3 separate regions of the Homo sapiens genome follow, and all the other regions are linked to region 1. The links are contacts of gene promoters, found by promoter capture Hi-C in blood cells and fetal thymus (Javierre and others, 2016). All regions are on one chromosome and are shown on one strand. The core of a region is centred on a gene start or on the middle of the fragment in contact, and the rest is flanking DNA. Distances in the headings are between cores, read along the strand shown.

Region 1 (5,014 bases), core at 1,129-3,628:
ACCTCTGGACAGCATGATGTAATCTTATGCTGAAAGCCTTCACATCCTCAAGAATAGTGGCAAAAGGCCTTGTATGATGACATACCATAGCTCCTCCTGTATGGGGGCTATGCTTAGTGTAAGCTTATGGGATTTCAACAATGAGAGGTCCCCCACTGGGACAGAGTCACTCTTTGTAGGTAGAAGGTAGGGATATACCTGAAGGGTGAATTGGCAAGATGAAATCTTCCATGTGAAGTGCTTGTCAAGAGATGTAAAGTAACAGACCTAGACAGAAAGTCTGAAAGCCATGCCAGTCTTTTCTGGCTATAGCAGAGCTCTCCTCGGAAGGATGAAAGCAGGGTTGGACCTATAAGCCCTGAGAACATGCTTGCTGTAGTATAATCAGAAACTTATGCTGTGTAAGCTCAGCTGTTTTCATGTGTTCTGTTTCTATTTCTAGTTTTCCTATAGTTTTTAATAAAGTCTCTTTGTAAACACCAGCCCACTTCAGCTGTGCTTATGGAAACCAAGGAAAAGCATTTCTGTCCTCTCTTGAGCCAGAGTTTCAGGAGTAATCTAAGGTGTTATTACCACGTGTGGGGTACAGAGCAGAGGTAGGAGTCCTAAGCAAGGTGAGAGTGCTGGAAATCTGTAGAATGAAGGAAGAAATGAGCAAGCAAATAGAATTGAATCATTAGTTTCAGAAAATACAATACTGTGTTTTTAAAATTTGTTCATATATTTGTTTTGGGAAATCAAATTTTTAATGGCTGCATAATACTTTATGTATCAGCAATTTTGCCTTAGTTTATTTAAACATTCTGCTGCTGGTCATTTAGGATAGTCCCCACTTGTTTCTATTTTAAAAGCAGTAAGATTGGTATAGGTCAAGCAGTCCTCTAGTGTCACAAAACTTTCCCTGGGCCAGCCTCACTCTTCATCACCAAGCACATAACCAGGGAAACCCAAAGGTAACACATTTGCTGTCACTGAACCGCCAGTCTACAAAACACTCACCTTTACGTAGTTCTTCTCTATCTTGAAGTGATATAGTTTGTTTCTCTTTCCCAGATTTATTCTTATGAACTTCATTTTTGGCTTCCGATCACTTGGCTTCCCTAATTTCCTAGGGTCATTATTAATTATTGTGCTCTGCCCAGGTGCTGATTCCTTCTCAATCTGCAATCATCTACGTATATTAAAGACAATTTTTCTTCTTCCTCCACCCTTCCTGCTCCACCCCTTAAATAGGGAAAGGGCTTGTCACAAAGGTTGGGGATACTCAGTGTATGTCTGAACTTGGGCACTGAAAGAGAGAGCGGGAATTACTCTAACACACAGTCCCCCCATCCATACCCTCCACACAACGGTCAACAGTTTACCTTTTCACCTGTGAGATGATGCAGACTGTTATTCAGAATTAGAAATAGTATTATAGATTATCCAGTCCAATTCCCTAACAGATGAGGAAAATGATGTGGCCAAGGTCGCTGAATGAATAAGTGGCAGAAACGAAACTGAATTCAGGTCTCCTAAAACCCACTACGTTTGGCTTGGGGAGTTCTGGATGAGAGCGTGGGACTTGGTGGTTTTTGTTATTCATTCAATAACTATATTAAGCATCTACATACTAGGTGCCAGGCACTATTTTAGGAGCTGGGGATTCCGTGATGGAGGGTGCAGGGGAGACAAAAATCTCTCCCCTTATGGAGCTTTCATTCTCAAAACTTAAGCACTTGGCCTCCCCATCTGGGACAAACTCCCAGAGACCTGCGTAGGAGCGGTAGGGTCTCATAAAGGAGGGAGTCCCATCCTTCCCCCGCTCCGGTGATTTCTATAGCTAGAGGGCTGATTTACTGCAGAAACCTCCGTAGCGCCCTCCTCCTGCCTCTGCACCGTCAGGCCCGGTGGGTCCGGCTCCAGAGCGCCACCGTGCCCCAGCTCAACTCTGGGATCATTAGCAACAGCCTCTCTACCCTCTCCGCTTTCCTGCGCATCGCTGGAGGACAGGGAGGCAGGACTCGACTTTAGCGCCATCCTCTGAGAAAGGAATGCGGGCTGGAAAAATCTTTCCAGGGCAGTCTCGCTGGGTCTCATACCCCGGCTAGGGGAGGGACGATCTCTCCCGGACTTGGAGGTTTCTGCAGCAGACGGCTCTCTCATACTTCCCTATTAAACATTGCGACCACACGCTCTTTCCAGCCTTGGCCGAAGCCACTGTAGCGTCCCCTCTCCTCCCCCCACCCCGCTAGTCCAGACTCCAGAGCCCCACTGCAGCTTCCAGCCATCCTCCCTTTTTCTTCGCCACTTCCTGGTTACCATGGAGACACACGTCATTTACGTGCCGTGCGTCGCCTTGGAAACAGAGGAGCATCCGCGACACCCCCGGGAGACCCACCCCAGCTGCTGCTGCCACACTCGCGGGCGCTGCCCGGTAATGGCCTGGGGGAGTCCCGAGTCCGACGCGCCGCTGGCCTCAGCCTGGACGCGGACCCCTCCGCGAGCGCGTCTGTGACCCACGGAACCGGCAGGCGCTCTCTGCTTGTGGCGCCCAGAGGGCGGCGCTGACACGGGCGCGATCCGGGAGGCGAGGCAGGGCAGGGCACTTTCGTCCCGGGGCGATCCCAAGAGACGCCGGCTCTGGGACCCTCGCCGGGTCCTCGTCCCGCAGCCTCTTCTCGGCCTCCCGCGATCCTGCCTGCGCCCTCTGCCCAGGACTCGTCTCTCACGTCGGCTCCCCGCCAGTCTCGGGAGCCTCCGCTTCCCTCGGCTCCCGCTAGCCCCTCCCGGGACCTCTCCCCCTCCACCCCCTCCCCCACCCCGGAGGCCGGGCTGGACGCGACCCAGAGCCTCCGCCACCCGCTTCTGCCACTCAATGGAGGACGGTCTGCTGGAGATCATGACCAAGGACGGCGGCGACATGCCGGCGCCCCTGGAGGTGTCCACCGTGCCGGCAGTGGGGGACGTGATCTCCGGGGAGTACAACGGCGGCATGAAGGAACTGATGGAGCACCTGAAAGCCCAGCTGCAAGCCCTGTTTGAGGACGTGAGGGCCATGAGGGGGGCCCTGGACGAGCAGGCCTCGCACATCCAGGTGCTCTCGGACGACGTGTGCGCCAACCAGCGAGCCATCGTCTCCATGTGCCAGATTATGACCACTGCGCCCCGCCAGGGCGGCTTGGGCGTGGTCGGCGGCAAGGGGAGCTTCCAGAGCGACCCCCAAGAGCCGGAGACTCCTTCGCCTGGGATCGGGGACAGCGGCTTGCTGGGTCGCGATCCCGAGGACGAGGAGGAAGAGGAAGAAGAGAAGGAGATGCCCAGCCCCGCCACACCCTCCAGTCACTGTGAGCGCCCCGAAAGCCCCTGTGCTGGTCTCCTTGGGGGGGACGGGCCACTTGTGGAGCCCCTCGACATGCCCGACATTACCCTGCTGCAACTGGAGGGCGAGGCCTCCCTGTGAGGGGACTCCGTGGGGCACTACCTTCCCGGGCTGTCTTTGGGTTTCCGAGTGCATGACGCGAGGGGGACTGAACGGCGCGGTGCGGCATGCTTCACTTGGACAGCTGCTCTTGTGGGTCAGGCAGAGAGAGACTCCCTCGAGGAAGGATTTGTAGGGTGAAGGACTTTGGGAGCATCGAGAATTCTTTCTGCCCAACTAAGCGAATTATAGCGAACTGCGGAAAGGTGAGGCTCCGGGAGAGGAAGCGCCCATCTCTGGACTCCCATCCATCCCTATCCTGTCCTTTCCCCCTTCCCAGACAACAGGAGAACCCGTGAATTGTGTAAATAAAATTCTGCTTTTTCTATTCTGAAAAAGGACTTACCTAGGACCATGGCAAATAATCTCTAACAATTTACCTGGAAATTAAGGAATTGGGGGTATTTTGTTCTGGCAACAGGAAATTTACCCTTCTGCTGAAATCCAAGATATTCAGTGCTCTGCAGAAGCCTCTCCCCCTCACAGATCTCTGCGGCTGCTGATTGGTAAAGGAAGCTTGAGGAGGGAACTGCAGCCCTAGGAATCTGGGTGAATGGGGTTCCAAGGGCCCCTGGGCTGGGAGGAGCTGGCTATGAATGTGCATGAAGACATAATAGCTCAACCTCTAGGATTTTGCATGCAGAGCGGATCCTGCCTTGTCACTGACTTCATCTGGGATTGCTTTTCCACTCCCTGGGGCTTAGAGAACAAAGAGCCCGGTTCACAGGCAGAGACTCGGGGGTGCTCAGCAGCAGCCCAGATTTAGGGGACATTTGAGGGACTCTTGGGGCCGCAGCCAAAAACTGTCTCTCCTGGCTACACCTGCTTAACTTCAGTTCCTTTTTCTGTCAATATGTCCTTGCCCACTGCCTCTCGGTGTTGCCTTCATAATGTCTTGTGTGTGTTATGTGTGTCTACTTGTGTAGTAGTGTGTGAGCCCTCAGGGGCAGGGCTTGTGGCTCTGGTGTTAGGTTCAGGGGCTTCAGACCCTTCTACGAGCTCCAAGCTATCAATGGCGCTTTTCTCTCCCTCTTCCCCCAACCAGGGCATGGAGCATGTGGCTGTCCTGAGGTTCTTTTACTGATGTGCCGCCCTTCCACCTCCTCAAGTGGTGACTTTGTGTGCCCTCCCCCTCCTTTGTGTATTCCTTCTCAATGCTTTCCTTGGTGTTAACCTTAATAAAAAGGCGTCATCTCCCCTCCTTGCTGACTGGTACTAAGGGGATATCAGGGTGGGTCTTAGTGGGAACTGCAGGGGCCATGCCTTCCCTCCTCTCTCCTTGCCTCCAGTTCAAGGAGTTGACTGTCCCTGCCCTGGTTGGGACAGGCATTGCCAACTCTCCCTGCTTTCCCTTCTGTCCTGGACCTTGACCTCAAGCTGCCCTGGGGAAGGAGGTGGTAAGTGTTGAGACTCCCATGCTAACATGAGTTTTTAGTAGCCAGAACTCCAAATGTGCAGGAGACTTCTTTTTCAGTGAAGCATCCCAGTGAAGCCCTGGGAAATGATTTCCAAATCTGGGTCCTGGAATGGCAGATACTGCACCTGTTCCATGGA
Region 2 (5,014 bases), core at 1,524-4,023, 340 kb after region 1:
TCTTTTGTTGATCTCTGCTTCTCTTCAGTCATTGTGCCCAAGATGCTGGAGAACCTCCTGTCACAGAGGAAAACCATTTCAGTAGAGGGCTGCCTGGCTCAGGTCTTCTTTGTGTTTGTCACTGCAGGGACTGAAGCCTGCCTTCTCTCAGGGATGGCCTATGACCGCCATGCTGCCATCTGCCGCCCACTACTTTATGGACAGATCATGGGTAAACAGCTGTATATGCACCTTGTGTGGGGCTCATGGGGACTGGGCTTTCTGGACGCACTCATCAATGTCCTCCTAGCTGTAAACATGGTCTTTTGTGAAGCCAAAATCATTCACCACTACAGCTATGAGATGCCATCCCTCCTCCCTCTGTCCTGCTCTGATATCTCCAGAAGCCTCATCGCCTTGCTCTGCTCCACTCTCCTACATGGGCTGGGAAACTTCCTTTTGGTCTTCTTATCCTACACCCGTATAATCTCTACCATCCTAAGCATCAGCTCTACCTCGGGCAGAAGCAAGGCCTTCTCCACCTGCTCTGCCCACCTCACTGCAGTGACACTTTACTATGGCTCAGGTTTGCTCCGCCATCTCATGCCAAACTCAGGTTCCCCCATAGAGTTGATCTTCTCTGTGCAGTATACTGTAGTCACTCCCATGCTGAATTCCCTCATCTATAGCCTGAAAAATAAGGAAGTGAAGGTAGCTCTGAAAAGAACTTTGGAAAAATATTTGCAATATACCAGACGTTGAGTTAAAAAACAAACATTGTTGGCCGAGCACTGTGGCTCATGCCTGCAGCAGGAGGATTGCTTGAGCTCAGGAGTTCGAGATTAGCTTGGCCAACATGGTGAAACCCTGTCTCCAAAAAAAAAAAAAAATAGGCCGGGCATGGTGGTGTGCACCTGTAATTCCAGTTACTTGGAAGGCTGAGGGAGGAGGATCACTTGAGCGTGGGAGGTCAAGGCTGCAGTGAGCTGAGATTGCACCACTGCACTCCAGCCTGGGCAACAGAGCAAGACCCTGTCTCAAAAAAAAAAGATTTTGGAAAATTTAGGTCAAGCTGCATACAACATGACACTGGATAAGTTTATAGTAGTAAGTATTCCTGGCTACCCTCAGTGTCTGATACTGCAAGCTGTAAATTAGAAGTGCATGAGAGAATGGTACAAAGTTATTACAAGTAGGAAGGTTAACTTTAATCCCTCTTAGTGACAAAGCAAATTATTAAATTATTACCTCAATAAAGTTTTGTTATGAACATATTGATTCATTTTTCTCATTCTAAAACATTCATCTTGGGCTTTGCATTTAGTAAAATCATTAGCGTCGCAAATCTATCATTATTTTTAATTTACTTTGGTGAACACACTAAAAGTCATGGCATTTAATAAGAACACAGTGTCATGGATGCGTGGGAGAGAAAAGTCACTAGATAAGACTTGATGGGAAGAAAGAGAAAGATTTCCAACCGTGTGGCCATAGAAGACATAAACACCTAAGAGAACTTCAGAGAGGGAATCAACATACTGAGGCAGAACTTGGACTCAGATAAAATTCCCAAGAACTTCACTGTGTGTGCAGCTTGGTGGCCAGCTCTCCGGTGCAAAAGATTGCAAGGAGGCTCTGTGGCTCTAGAAACTTCATTCCTCACATGGTCTTCATTCACTGTATACGGGATTTATATTTTTTCCAATTAGCTGATCTTATCAGTGTGTCTTTTCCTTGTAGAGTGCAGGCTATGTACCCTAGACAAATAATCTTGTTTTGACCTCATCTCAAGTGAATCCTGAAACTATCTTTGTCTCATCTTTCATTGTTTAGTGTCAGGTGGTTTGCCGGTTCTAAGGGCACTGAAAAACTCTCACGTAATAAACATTTTTTCCTATAAAACAAATGCTTCTGATTTGTTTAAGCTATATTTTACAATTGCCTAACTTACTGTAGTTAACTGAAAAGGTGCAAAAACTATCTACAAATTATTGAATTTATTGAATATTAACTTGCACTTTTCTCAAGCTTCTTTCACAAACTCTCTTCGTTCTAATTGTCAGTTTTAAAAGCTTTTCATGAAAAAAACGTATCTGTTACAAGGGGGAAAGAAGCCTCCGGGACAGCAGTCATTTGCCTCAGCTGCACAAAGGCCAGGCCAGATGGAAGAGACCAGCCTTCACCGAAGGCCGCAGGGAGCCCGGACACCCGGAGCTGAGCATTCCGGTCACGCCTCAACCCCAAGGGGCCTGCGCATGCTCCGCGCTGCGCGCGGCGCCCACGGCCCTGCCCTGATACGCAGGAGCCCCGGGATAGAGAAACCCAGATGAAAACACAAGCCCAGTGAGATGTTGGCCTCCTCATCTGCTACCCTCGCCGTCACCTCTGCGCACCAAGCCTTCTGTCCCGGAGAAGAAGCCGTATTTGGTCTCCCTCGATGGGCGAGACCGGGGCCACGCGGGCACCGTGATCCCGCCACTGCATCCCGGGGACCCGCCGCTCATCCTGGAGCGGCTCAGGGCCGTTTAGCAGCTTCCGCAGGTGCTGCCTGGCCCCCGTAGACACCAAGCCAGCTTATCAAAATTAAGGCAGAAGGCCCAGCATTCGGTGTCCACACACCTGGACAAGCAGGAATGGAATCCTACAATGCGCAAAAACTGATTGCGAAGTGGCCTGAGGCAGAGTGTTTTTCAGTCAGGGACGTTGAAAGCTGGAGTTGACGGGGTTCTTTATCAGATGGTGGATCCAGAACTAAACCACATCCCCAGGCCACCAGTGGAATGAGCAATTCACGAGATCCTGGGCGCCCAGAAGACAGCAATGGTGCCAGTGCCCCCTCCAGAGCCCAAAGACCAGTACCCTCCAGCCTTCCATCTCAGGGCGCTTCCCAAGAATATGTCCCACCCGTTTTGAAAGCTCCATTTGAGTTAATGGTGAAGAAGTAGCTTCGGTTACATGGTTACATAAGAGTGCAACTTCAGAATGAAGATAGGCCGAGGTCTCACTGATTTCGGTATTTCAGCCTTGACTGTGGGCAGTGTCCAGTTTGAACGGGGAGAGAGTTTGACGTTGGGGAAGTTGACTGTGTTGTCCCCTTCGTTGTGCCGCCATTTGACCAGCCTGTCCAAAGGTACAACGCCCAGTAGACACTACAGGGAGATAGAGAGACACTGCAGCAACCTGAGGTTGTCCTGAGACAAACTTTTATACTTGAACATGGAGACTGCACATGGATTTTGGGTTTGTGCTCTGTAATACACAAAAGCTACAATTAAAGAACATAACCAGTCCCAAAGATAATTTCAAAGAATAACGGCAATTTAAGAGGTAGCTGGAAGTGGGGATTTGACAGTGCTTATTTGACGTTACTTCTCAGAGTTGCAAACTAAAATGTACAAACCGTTAGCATCAGATATCTTGATGGTTGAAGGTTGTTATGACCTTCCTGTACATGAATCTTTTACGTTCCCTTTCCCTTGTAAGAGGTGACAAAACATGGAACCCTAGAATGTGTGAGGAAGCTTGGACATTAGGTATAAGGAAAAACATTTGCAAGCTGTCTGTCCAGGGCCTCTTCCTGTCCTGCAAGGGCTGGTGAGTCTTGGGTGTGTTTAGTTTATTCTCATGTTTGTGTTATTTGAAAAAGTGAATGGTCAATAAATGGCTTCAGATTTATAATAAAATCATTTGATACTAAAAGAAAGAAATTTCACTAGGAATTTATCCTGAGTAAATCATCATGAATATGCACAAATGTATTTTTACAAAGATGTTTATTTCAATACTATTTATAGAGGTTAAAATTTTTGTAGCAATCGCCGGGCACGGTGGCTCACACCTGTAATCCCAGCACTTTGGGAGACCGAAGTAGGCAGATCACCTGAGGTCGGGTTCAAGACCAGCCTGACCAACACGGAGAAACCCCTTCTCTACTAAAAATACAAAATTAACCAGTCACGCTGATGCATGCCTGTAGTCCTAGCTATTCGGGAGACTGAGGCAGGAGAATCGCTTGAACCTGGGAGGCGGAGGTTGCGGTGAGCCGAGGTCATGTCATTGCACTCGGCAACAAGAGGGAAACTCCAATGCAAAAAAAAAAAAAAATTGTAGCAATCTAGATGTCTAACAATATGGTTTTTGTTACATATATTCTACTACATCCAGAGAAATATTTCATTACACGGAAACATTCATGATATACACTGTTAAGTTTTAAAAAAGTATATCACAACTCAACATGTAAAGTACAATCTGATTTACGTTTTTATAACTATATTTATTTCTGTCTGTATAACTATGTCATTGTAAATTTATCTATCTACCTATCCATGTTTATATCTGTCATTATTGATATTGCCACAGAAAAAAATAGACACCTCCAAATATTCATTTCTTAATAATGTACAAAATAAAAAATACCCTCATCTGGCCATTGATATTTCACAAATGGTGTCTCCTCTCAACTGATACGCCAGAATACCCTAAACACACTATATATTCCAAACACAACAATTCAAGGCCTGATTTGCTTTCTTTGGCCTAAGATGAGGCATCAGTTAAAACCCCAAGTCAAGCTTCCTATGGTGAAGGAGAGTAGAAATACCTGAACCCTGGACTTGAAGTTGGTTATAGTCAGCGCACAGATGTCACAGGAGGATAGTGATTGAGAGAAAGATACCAACAGACCCAAATTCCTTTTAGCATAAGTAAAAGACATTAGATCATAACTGCATGAAGACATGTCTACAATTCTAGAGGCTCAGCAATGGTCTCCCCATTGCAGGGGCAATGCCCTTGAACTTCAATGCTCACATAACCCCACTGCTTACTATACCGCCCTTCAGTAAAAAGACCCCATCTAGTCCTTAAGGAAACTCTTCTTGTAATTCTCTCAAGGGTTTTTATGTTGTGGCCTCCAGAAATATGAGGAGACCTTGGCTATATATTGACCCTCCCAAGAAGTATAAATAACTGTTGACAATCCTAGCATATACCTGAGTGCTTATTAATGAGAGATTGAATTTATAGGGAATTT
Region 3 (5,014 bases), core at 1,289-3,788, 260 kb before region 1:
CTTCCAATTAAAATTAAAAACCATGTCGATCTCATTTATTGCCATCAGTCTAGTGTCTAGAATAACCCCGGCACACTGTAGGAACTCCATAAATATTTGAATGAATGGATGAACCAATATCAAGTAGATTTCTTCAACACAGGACTTCTCAGGGTCTTCCATGAGCAAATCTGTATCGGAACCTTCAAGCAAGAGACATAGTATGTGGGGTTTTCCAAACCTATTGGAACTATTCCTTGAAGCATCAAGTGGGAAATTTTTCCATTGCTCATACTTTTGGAGACTCTGCTTTAGGTTTTATGCATGACTTTGTACCTAAATGAATTTTAGATTCTGTCTGAAAGCTAGTTTAGAGAATTAGAGAGTCGGGAGGACCCAGGAGGCTATAAACAGAGCAAAGATATATAGATAATGAGAGTGGGAATGGAAAAGATCCTATAAGTAAGTAGTAATAAGTAGATGGAGACTTTTACCTAAGATTGCCCCAATATCTAGATGAGTAGATCTCTCTTAGGCTATGTCTCTGAGGCTGGACACAGTGGCTCACACCTGTAACCCCAGGACTTTGGGAGGCCAAGGCAGGTGGGTTGCTTGAACTCAGGAGTTCGAGACCAGCCTGGACAATATAGTGGGACACTATCTCTACGAAAAATACAGAAATTAGCCGGGCATGGTGGTGCACACCTGTAGTCCCAGCTACCCAGGAGGCTGAGGTGGGAGGATCACTTGAGCCCAAGGGGTAAAGGCTGCAGTGAGCTGTATTCACACCACTGTACACCAGCCTGGGCAACAGAGCAAGACCCTGTCTCAAAAAGGATATGTCTTTGACTTAAGGTCTTTCTCAGTCCAGTTGTACCTAGCATTAGACCCACTTGCTTCTGCTGAAGTTTTATTTATAAACAGAAAAGTTACCACCCTCAACAAGGGCTTAAATCAGGACAGACTGAGAACGTGCTAAGGAGGTTGTTGTGTCCACTTTACCTTCTGTGGGGGAGTTACTGATATGTCTTTGCAAATATGTCTTTTTAAATGTCTTAACTGCTTTTACCTGGGCAGGAGAAAGGTGAACTGGGAATTGAGAAAGGCTCGTGGGCTGGAGGGAGAGGAAGCTGCTATCTTGGGGAAGTTAAAATAACATTTCATCTTTGTCTTGGATGAACTGTAAACAGGTTCAATACTTTAATTTGCTTGAAAAATAGTTTTTCTAAATGCTTCTAAATTGGCTTAATAGTTCAGAGGAGAGAACATGATCTTTGCGGAAATAAGTCTCCAATTAAACCATGTACTAGCTGCGGAGGTATTATGATTGAGTTTAAAATGCAGGCACCATATTTTTTTTTTTTTTAGAAAAAGATGTAAGAAACTATCAACAATGACAGGCTTTAGAGAGAGAAACTTGGGTCAGGTGAGGGATGTGTTGAGGGAGATGTTTACTTTTCATCTTATCTTTCTGTTTCATTTGGCTTTTTACCATATACACATATTACTTTTTTAAAAATGTTAATGCATGAAAAGAATGTACTTCCCTATGTAGGTCACCCATCTCCATTTTCGTACCTGGGTCTAGGGTAGGAAGAAGCAGAAACTGGAAACATGAGAAAAGAACCAGCAAGGGTCAGCTCGGAACTCCACCAAGAGGGGCTACACATGGGGCCCAGCTGGGCCACGGGTTGGTGCTACTTGCCTTATCTGAAGGAGTGCGTCTAGCCATGCCTTATTACTAAAGAAAGAGAAGGATTGTATTAATGGGATCATTGCCCCTACTCCTCAGTTGATGGCATAAAGGCAAGAAATCTAATAACCTATTATCAAAATGTATGATTTTTCCAAAAAGAAAAGAGTTGGAATTTTCTCATCCCCATCAAAACCTTGGTGCTAAACTCAGGGATCTTGCCTGGTTCATATCTGTCTGAAACTGAAAACATTCCCACACCTCCAGAATTTGTCCTTCGTGGCCTGTCCTATTGTCATCTGCCCTGCAAGAGAAGGAATGACCACTGGGCTTACCTACTGAGGACAAACCTCTTGAATTGGCTCTTTTGAATCAATCATGCACTTTGCTGGGAAACAAAGGTATAAAACATTAGTTCTTGGGAGTAGTACTACCTCTGGGAGTGGTGAGTAATAAGTGCAGAGTCTGAAACTTTTTCAAATCAAGTTTGAAGAGGAAGAAAGAGGAGGAGGAGGAGGAGGAAGCAGCTTAAGAAAATGGATTGAGGCCAGGCGCAGTGGCTCATGCCTGTAATCCCAGCACTTTGGGAGGCCAAGGCGGGTAATCACCTGAGGTGAGGAGTTCGAGACCAGCCTGGCCAACATGGTGAAACCCTGTCTCCACTAAATACAAAAAATTAGCCAGGCATGGTGGTGGGTGCCTGTAATCCCAGCTTAGGAGGCTGAGGCAGGAGAATTGCTTGAACTCGGGAGGTGGAGATTGCAGTGAGCTGAGATTGTACCATTGCACTCCAGCCTGAGTGACAGAGAGAGACTCTGTCTCAAAAAAAAAAAAAAAAAAAAGAAAGAAAGAAAGAAAAAGAAAATGGATTGACCCAAAGTACCCTCAATATCTTTACAGAAATGTGACCCTTCAAACCAGATGCTCTTTCAGGTCCTTATCATTATGTCTTTGTAGCCTCTTCCTCTTCCTCTTCTGTTCCTTTCTTGATTCCTTCCTTGATTCCTTCCTTCCTTCCTTCCTTCCTTCCTTCCTTCCCTCTTTCCTTCCTTTCTTTCAATAGATGTTTACTGAATACCTACTAAGTGATGGGCATTGGTGCAATAGAAGATACAAAGATGAGTAACATACAGTGCCTACTCTCAAATACCTCATTAATACATCATAAGAGGTCTAGTCAAGAGTCAGTAAAGCTCTAGGACAGCTGTTGATTCTGAGTGAAGAGACCAAGATGGTGTCATGGAGAAGTTAACATTTGAACTAAAGAGAGAAAGTGAAATAAGTAGATTTTAGGATGGCCCCATGACCTTCACCCCCTGGTCTTACTCCCATGATTATATGGTAAATGGAGATAATCCAGGTGGGTCTGATCTAATCACATGAGCCCTGTAAAACCAGGGCATTGTATCTGGCTGGTGATAGAAGAATAAGTGAGAGACTTGAGGCATGAGAAGGGCTTGATATGCCATTGCTGACTTGAAGATGGAGGGACCACAGGAGAAGCAATGCAGATGGCTTTACAGACTCAAGAGAGACCCCAGTGACAGCCAGCTGAGAAATAGGAACCTCAGGCCTGCAGCCACTGGAACTGAATTCTGCCAACAGCCTGAATGAACTTGGAAGCAGATTCTTTCCCAGAGCCTCCAGAAAGAGGCTACCCAGGCGACACATGAATTTTGGGCTTATGAGACTCCAGACAGATAACCTAGCAGGGGTCACCTGGACTTCTGGCCTACAGAGCAGTGACTAATACATGGATGCTATTTATCATTAGGCTGTGGCACTTATTATACGGCACTAGAAAACTAATGCAAACAGTTTTCTATTCAGAGGGAAGAGCATGAGCATGATGATATGGAGCACTCAGAGACTTTAGGGGAGAGCAAGGGGCTCAGTATCTTCAGATATATCAGTGGGAAAGGAGTGGCATGGAGAGTCTGCAAAGCTGTTTGAGCCAGAGTGGGAAGTCATTTATTTTCATGCGTGTTAGGGAGTTGGGCTTTATCCTTGAGCACCATGTTCTACCTCCCCTTCCTCTTGGAAGCTACATCACCTCCTGCCTGGCATGGAAATATCATCTGTCTTTCTTTTCTTTTTTTCCTTTCTGTTTATATCTACCTGTATCATCTTGCCCTTCACTCTTTGCACTGTTCCCCTTGAGGTAAGAGAATCCCCAGGAGCCCTGCCTGCCAATGTGGCAAGACATAGCTATGGTGGGAAGACAGCTGTGCAGTCATGGCAAAGGCAATGTCCTCCTGCCCAAGTCCACCAGCATCCACCACCAGCTCTCCTCTCCACAGAGGGACTGGCTGATGAGGAGAGAGAGTGGAATCAATGTCTACAAATGGGAGGAATGGAGTGGACCAGAGCCTGGATGTCTCATTTAGACAGCAATGGTAGTGAAACTCTGAGCACTGACACAAGGATCCCAGCAAGTGCTGTTTGGAAAGTGAAGGAGGCGAGACGTATCCAACAAGGCCCTAGCAGAAAATACAATTCACCCCAGAGGGGTCAAATGAAGAGACCTTGAAGAAAAGTCAATTGATAGAGGTGTAGGCAAGGTTAAGGGAATGAAAATGGACTGTAGGAATATTAGGAAATCATTACCACCTTGATCTCAATGGCCCAAGGGATAAGGAAAGAAATAGCAACCAGAGCCCAGAGAGAGCTGGAAGCATGGAGAATGGGACTCCTGGCAGGAACTGCAGTCACTGCACAGAGACTTGGCCCTGGAGCAAGGAGAAGGAGGGAGAAATACTTGGCCTCCCTCTCCTCTGGCCCTCAGATCCCCTGAAAGTGCCTCCCCTGCTGGACCCTGTCTGAAGCCCTTCAGTGAGGGAGTCCATGGGGGCATAGTCCAGACAGCCAGCCTTCTGGGACACAGAACAGGACAGAGAAAGGTGAGAATGGATCCGAGTGGGAGGTGGGATTGAGGAACAGAGAATAACCCGAGGTAAGGGAACCAAGAGGTTCATTGGCTTTGCCATGATGTTGACTTTGCCATGACCTGAGCCATGTATGAACTCAAACAAGACCACTTTTGACCCTGGCACTGTTGCTATGGCTATACCCTTGCCAGTGGCACCCAAAAAAGGAATGATCTGAAAGAGGAAAGGCTCCCATGACAGCGAAGCTCATATCTTGGCCCTTTAGTTCAGGGATGCTCTATGAGTACAGCCACCTCCCATGACAGGAGAAGGTTTGGAGGAATAAATGAGGGTATCATATGTCATTGTGGGAGCTTCTGGCCAAGGGACATTAGGGGCTTCCCAGAGATCGGAGTCTGAACTATTCAGGATGTATATGTTCAGAGTGGTGGGAAACCATGCTTGGAATTGTGGG

What was found. The method cuts DNA at HindIII sites, captures the fragments that hold promoters and counts their contacts. A CHiCAGO score of 5 or more calls a contact.
Region 2: a contact is called between a fragment that was not itself captured here and the fragment with the promoter of CCDC184 in region 1, in 1 of 17 cell types (M1 macrophages). The highest score is 5.2, in M1 macrophages.
Region 3: a contact is called between a fragment that was not itself captured here and the fragment with the promoter of CCDC184 in region 1, in 2 of 17 cell types (naive B cells and megakaryocytes). The highest score is 5.7, in naive B cells.

The regions. Positions count from the first base shown.
Region 1 is chr12:48,181,266-48,186,279 of GRCh38, forward strand. CCDC184 (coiled-coil domain containing 184) reads left to right here and starts at 2,379. Exons shown (of 1, transcript NM_001013635.4): 1 at 2,379-4,661. The coding sequence starts at 2,858. The coding sequence ends at 3,442. The HindIII fragment of the contact is 3,853 bases long and covers 122-3,974 here.
Region 2 is chr12:48,525,830-48,530,843 of GRCh38, forward strand. OR8S1 (olfactory receptor family 8 subfamily S member 1) reads left to right here. Exons shown (of 1, transcript NM_001390849.1): 1 at 1-741. The coding sequence ends at 741. Among named protein-coding and RNA genes, the nearest start is that of OR8S1, 2.7 kb to the left of the region's middle. RefSeq lists a silencer at 308-508. The HindIII fragment of the contact is 1,449 bases long and covers 2,050-3,498 here.
Region 3 is chr12:47,922,894-47,927,907 of GRCh38, forward strand. No RefSeq gene overlaps it. Among named protein-coding and RNA genes, the nearest start is that of VDR, 20 kb to the left of the region's middle. The HindIII fragment of the contact is 9,696 bases long and covers 1-5,014 here.